Regions from separate parts of the Homo sapiens genome. Here region 1 is linked to region 2. The links are contacts of gene promoters, found by promoter capture Hi-C in blood cells and fetal thymus (Javierre and others, 2016). All regions are on one chromosome and are shown on one strand. The core of a region is centred on a gene start or on the middle of the fragment in contact, and the rest is flanking DNA. Distances in the headings are between cores, read along the strand shown. Region 1 has its middle 61 kb from the start of RGS2-AS1. Region 2 holds the start of RGS2 (regulator of G protein signaling 2).

Region 1 (2,956 bases), core at 21-2,520, 79 kb before region 2:
AGATGGTTCTGCATTTCTTTCAGTGACACCACATTCTCAGTCAGGCAGGCTGGATGTTTGGAAATCATCCTCAACTCCTCCTGTTTCTGCTCCGACAATCCATTACTAAATTCTGTTAGTTCTCTTTTTTGGTATTCTTGCTCTGTGTTCAGTACCACAGCGCCTTGTCATTTATTGTCTGGATTATTTATATAATATCCTCATTGGTTCATTTTTTGTCTATGAGTTCCTGGAGACTTAAAGAAGAATTTGAGACACAATGAAGCATCCTTCTTCAAAAATTTCCAGTGGCTTTCCATTGCCTGAAGAATAACATTCAAACTCCTAAGCAAAGAATTTACAGCACCCCATGATAAGGCCTCAATCGCCTCTTCAGCCTCAGATCCTAATATACTTAGCCATATGCCTTTTACTGCAGCCATGTGGGTTCACCAAACATGTTTTCAAGTTCCTGGGTCTTTGCATCTCTGCTTGGTAGAGTTCTTGACTTTTCATCCTGTTCTGAGATCCTACTCATTCTTCAAGACTCTTTTGAAGTGCTTCCTCCCTCTAGCCACCCCATGATTTGTCTCATTAAATGCTTATGTTTCAAACACTGCAAAGTATTTTGTTTCTACCTTGTCATGTCACTTAATTTTCAACATGATTGTCATCTTGTTTAGACTGACAGGTTTGTAAGGACTGGGACCTTTGTACATTGTGTGTTGTACATTGAAGTTGCTCAATAAATGTTTATTGAACTTAATACCTTTGGAGAAAGAGTTAACAAGGACCTATAAGCAAGACGGAAATTTAGGTAAACGGGAGGGCATTGAAATAGAAAAAGAGTGTACTGAAGAGAAAACAGTTTTCTCTTTGTCTTTTGCCCAAGTAAGTCCTCCTTAGGATAGAATCAATGCTTTTTTACCCTGGAGGTACACATTCAAGTCACAAAATCTTTGTGTCATCTACACCAGACTTATGACTTTCATACTTCAGATGTGTACTATAAATAACAAACACAGAATTCTTATTTGTCTTTTAAATATTTGTTGGTTTTATGTCATTTTGCCATTCTTGGTTTAATGTCTGCTACGTAATAGAGGATTTGTCTGGTCTTTGCCCCAGGTTTCTGACATGAAGCTTCTAAAACCCTTGGAATTTCCTGAGAGATAGAAGTCTTTTTGTTATTCCTGAGCCTCCTGAATGGTTCCTGAGTTTATGCTAATGAGGTGACTCACGGTGGGCTATTCGATAGCTTTGGGACAGGGGCTGGGCGCCAGAAGGACCAACCATGTGATTGGAGGGTTGAAACTTTGAGCCAGTCTGACTTCCAGGGAGGACAAGGTGTGGAGATTGAGTTCAGTCATGTTGCTAATGATTTAATCAAGTATGCCTACCTAATGGAACCTCAATAAAAACTGAATACCAAAGCTTAGTGGTGCTTCCTGGTTGGTGAACACATCGATGTGCTGGGAAGGTGCCATGACTTGATTTGATAGGAAGACGATACAGAAATTGTGCACTAGGGACCCTCTCAGACCTTCCCCATGTGTCTTTTCATTTGGCTGATCCAGAATGTATCCTATATAATAAAACTCTAATCCTAAGTATTACACTTTCCTGAGTTCTGAGTTGTTCCAGTAAATTATTGAACCTAATGAGAGACAGGACTAGCTGGATTTCCTAGGCCGACTAAGAATCTAAGCCTAGCTGGGAAGGTGACCACATCCACCTTTAAACATGGGGCTTGCAACTTAGCTCACACCCAACCAATCAGAGAGCTCACTAAAATGCTAATTAGGCAAAAACAGGAGGTAAAGAAATAGTCAATCATCTATTGCCTGAGAGCACAGCGGGAGGGACAAGGATTGGGATATAAACCCAGGCATTCGAGCCGGCAACGGCAACCCCCTTTGGGTCCCCTCCCTTTGTATGGGAGCTCTGTTTTCACTCTGTTTCACTCTATTAAATCTTGCAACTGCACTCTTCTGGTCCATGTTTGTTATGGCTCGAGCTGAGCTTTTGCTCACCATCCACCACTGCTGTTTGCCACTGTCGCAGACCTGCCGCTGACTCCCATACCTCCAGATCCAGCAGGGTGTCTGCTGTGCTCCTGATCCAGTGAGACTCCCATTGCCACTCCCGATCGTGCTAAAGGCTTGCCATTGTTCCTGCACGGCTAAGTGCCTGGGTTTGTCCTAATTGAGCTGAACACTAGTCACTGGGTTCCACGGTTCTCTTTCATGACCCACAGCTTCTAATAGAGCTATAACACTCATCGCATGGCCCAAGATTCCATTCCTTGGAATCCGTGAAGCCAAGAACCCCAGTCAGAGAACACGAGGCTTGCCACCACCTTGGAAGCGCCTGCCACCATGTTGGAAGCAGCTCGCCACCATCTTGGGAGCTCTGTGAGCAAGGACCCCCAGTAACACTAAGAGGGTCATGGGAACACTAGTTGCTCAGAAGTGTGGGTGACCTAGGGACCGCCAAAGTACAGCTGGAATCTGAAGTAAGAGAAGATTTGTGAAGGATTAAGCCCTTAACTTATGGAGTCTGCACTAACTCTAAATGGTCAGTGCCAGAAATGACTTTTAGTACACCAATTTTGGTTGAAACAGAAAAATGTCACAGAATGAAAACCATTTTTGTAAATAGCAATAATTCAGTCATTTTTGGTGGAAATTCTTTGGTGTGATCTAAACCAAAATGAGATCAGCTTTGCTTCAAAAAGATTTTGCCAAATAAGAGAAACTGCTGAATATTTAATGTTTAAAATATCAATTTCTATGCATTTTTTCCTTTTTCATAGTGTTCAGGAATTAATTTTGATAGCAGTCAAGATTGCTTAATCTTCAGAGTTACATTTCCATTTTGCAAAGTAACAAATGGTTGGTTTTTACTCTTAGTTTCCCTTTCCCCACCCCGCATGTAAACAACCTACCATATTGTTGCAGAAAGGCAAATAGGGTTA
Region 2 (3,111 bases), core at 198-2,697:
CCTTTCCAGGCTTTTGCGATGTTAGCAATGGCTCAAGCTCAAGAGTTAACTTACATTTGCTGGCTAGCAGCTCGTCAAATGCTTCTGACCACAGCTGTGCTTCCTCAGGAGAAGGCCTGCAAGAGAGGTTCTGTATGTTAGCTTACGCACATCAGAGTTCCCCTTTTCAGTTCAGCAGCTAACTATTGATATTTGCAAGCACAGGATTCTCAACTTACTTGATGAAAGCTTGCTGTTTGCTTTTTTTGCCGGTTTTGGGCTTCCCAGGAGTAGAGGAATTTTGTAAGAAGTAGCTCAAACGGGTCTTCCAATCTTTTAAACTAAAACAAAAAATTAAAAAGATAATTACTAACTAGCAACACTTGAATATGCTACTGCAGCTGAACGCATTTTTACCAAATAAAGTCACCCAGTAACTAGAGACAAACCGCATAAGGCAAAGCAAGAACTCTTCAAATAAGTCTTATCCACCTAACATTTAAACCTCATGTACTGAGCAGTTTCGTCCATTAATCTGACCGTATCTACTAGTTTTACAACTAAGGGCAGGGCTACCTATAATCACTAGGGTATTTTAAAGAATTGTTAATGAATTTAGTTCAAAAGGCAGACACTATTTCTGGCTCACAAAGGGCATCAGTTTGTTTGCAAGGTTAATTACAATTCCGAGACGTTTTGCACTTTAATGAAAAGGACAGACATGGAACTGTCTGGAGCCGGCCCACGCTTCTCTCTTTAGAGCAGGAGGTTCTGGACCACGCCAGAGACTGTACAAAGAGGTGGGTGACTGATTCCCCTGCGCTCTTCCTTCCCCACCTACGACACTTCTTTTAAGCAGACGCTGCATAACAATTATTTGTTCCACATTCGGACTGGGTGAGATCTGCTCTATAATTAAAAAACAAAAATGGATTTTAAACGAGTATATTCAGAACCAGCAAGAGCATCACCTTCCAGTAGCTGTGTAAGCTGATGAGAACTCATCATGCAACGTATGAATGCTGGGGACGCGCTTCAGCCGCAGGATTCTGATGTCATTTTGAATGCAGGAGGACAAAAAGCCAACCCGCAATTTCTTAGCGCATCAACCACCGCCCTCATATCAACTGTCTCCCTCGGTTCTTAAACTGTACCCGAGCATCACCCAGATTTAACCTTACTTAACAAATTGACCTTTTCGATTTTTTTTCCCTGCATAGGCTCAGGCTAGTTTCCTAACGTCAAAGGCGAGCCCGAAAGTACCGCGTTTGCAGCTTGCAGTGTGGGGCAGGGGGTGGCGGGAGAGGGAAGAAAGCCATACTCACAGGGTCCGTTTCATCTTTTCTCGCTTCTCCTCGCTCTTGTGGCCACTGCCTGCGCTCTTGTCCATGGGTCTGCAGTCGTGTTGAACAGCCAAGAACATAGCACTTTGCATTATCGTTCTCCCGCTGGAGCCCCGGCTGTTTGCGGCTGGGCGTGCGTCGCAGCATTTATGAGGCCTCGGCTTGGGGGCGGGGCCTCGCGGCTCCGGCCCCGCCTCAAGAGGACGCGGATTGGTCGGCTGCAGACTGGCACGGGGATGGGTCAGCGCCCGCCGGCGGCAGTCACGGCTGCTGCCGAAGGGTCTCGAAGCCGGGGCGCTGCTGACGTCTGCGGCCCCGGCTTCTTGCGCACTCGGGCCACATAGCAGCGGCCAGCTGGGGCAGGTGTGGGAGCAGATGGAGAGTCTTCAGTGTGGGCCGCTGCGCACGACCTTTTGCTGAAGCGTGGCGGCCGGGCGGGCTCGAGGGCTTTGCGACGGAGGGAGGGAGCCGAAGTTGGCGGCGGCCCGGCGGGGGCGCCGGCGCTCCCTCACCCACCCTGACGGGCTCCCCAGCCCGAGGCCAGAGCGGCGATTCCCTGGCAGGAGGAGGTCGCCCGCCACGAGGCCGGAGTGCAGTGGCCTGATTTCGAATGAAGAGTGGGATTTTTCTTCCTTTTTTGAGCGCGTTCCCTGACCCCGCGCCTCATTTCTTGTTTGCTGTCCTGCTGTAGGACTCATTCGACACCCCCTGGTCTGTGAACTGAGGCAATGGGGAGACCCTCGCCCGTTTCTCTCTGCCACTTAACTTAAGGAAGGAGTAACCTGAAACGTTGATTGCCCAGGGGCAGGGTGGGATCTGCTCTGCAGCTTGCTGGGGCGTCTTGGAACACTTTGAGAATGAACATTAGGGATTGAACAAGAGAAAGTGACTTTATCAGAAGACAGTGCTTTAATTGGGTTTGCATTTTTGATCACTACTAGGCACGTGGCTGGGTCTGTCTATAGGGTCATTCCTCAGGAGTCCTTGGTCACATCTCCTGCCAAAATAGAAATCACAGATTTCCTTATGGTGGGAGAGAAAGCTGCAGACATAGAGATTTCATAGCTGTAATGCACCAGAATCAGTGAGTTCAAGGAGTCAGGATTTCCTCATGAGTCATTCTTGTTGAGTTAGGATTTACCAGAACATTTAATAACTGGCAAAAAGTAGGGGGGAGAATGAGTTAACAGTTTCCTTGATTAAGTTTTATTTGTTAATTCTTCAAGTATCATCTCTACTCCTGAAGGTTTTAAAACGACTTGATTGGTAAAGACAAATAGATTACCTCAACCACAAAATGAGTTGATTTCGGATAATATTACCAGAACTAGCCAGTGAAATGTTTAAGCGGCTTTGCAACCAAGCTGCAGATATTCTCTCTACTTTGTATTCGACTTCTTAAAAGGAAATTGGAAATAATTAATATATTCTTACGGTGAGCTGCCAGTAGTTGGAGCTCCAAGTTTGACTTGGAGGGCAAAACCTGCAGTTATTATTTAAGACAACAGTTGTGGACTTTATTGTGGAAAGGAAAATCGTGTAGATTTCAGTAATAGATACTTTGAAACATGCTTGTTAACTCTAGGAATGCCATTTTTTCTTAAGCATATGCTCTTCCTCTCCTATGCTTTGCATAATAGTCCTACATCTATTTTCACTTTCTGATGACTCAATACGTATTTATCAGCTGTCTGTAATACGCAGACACTTGCTTTTTCTCACCACTGTAAACCTCAATATATTTTATACTTAGAACCTTAGATGTTAGAATTTACTCATAGACAGTTAA

Evidence for each region. Contacts are between HindIII fragments. The CHiCAGO score rates a contact against its expected background, and 5 or more counts as called.
Region 1: a fragment that was not itself captured here is called in contact with the fragment with the promoter of RGS2 in region 2 in 1 of 17 cell types (monocytes); the score reaches 5.7 in monocytes.

Annotation. Positions count from the first base shown.
Region 1 is chr1:192,885,875-192,888,830 of GRCh38, reverse strand. No RefSeq gene overlaps it. Among named protein-coding and RNA genes, the nearest start is that of RGS2-AS1, 61 kb to the left of the region's middle. RefSeq lists an enhancer at 924-1,457. The HindIII fragment of the contact is 291 bases long and covers 1,125-1,415 here.
Region 2 is chr1:192,807,375-192,810,485 of GRCh38, reverse strand. RGS2 (regulator of G protein signaling 2) reads right to left here and starts at 1,447. Exons shown (of 5, transcript NM_002923.4): 1 at 1,305-1,447; 2 at 219-320; 3 at 55-116. The coding sequence starts at 1,414. RefSeq lists silencers at 194-253, 1,761-1,970, 2,907-2,996 and an enhancer at 1,211-1,430. The HindIII fragment of the contact is 4,593 bases long and covers 231-3,111 here.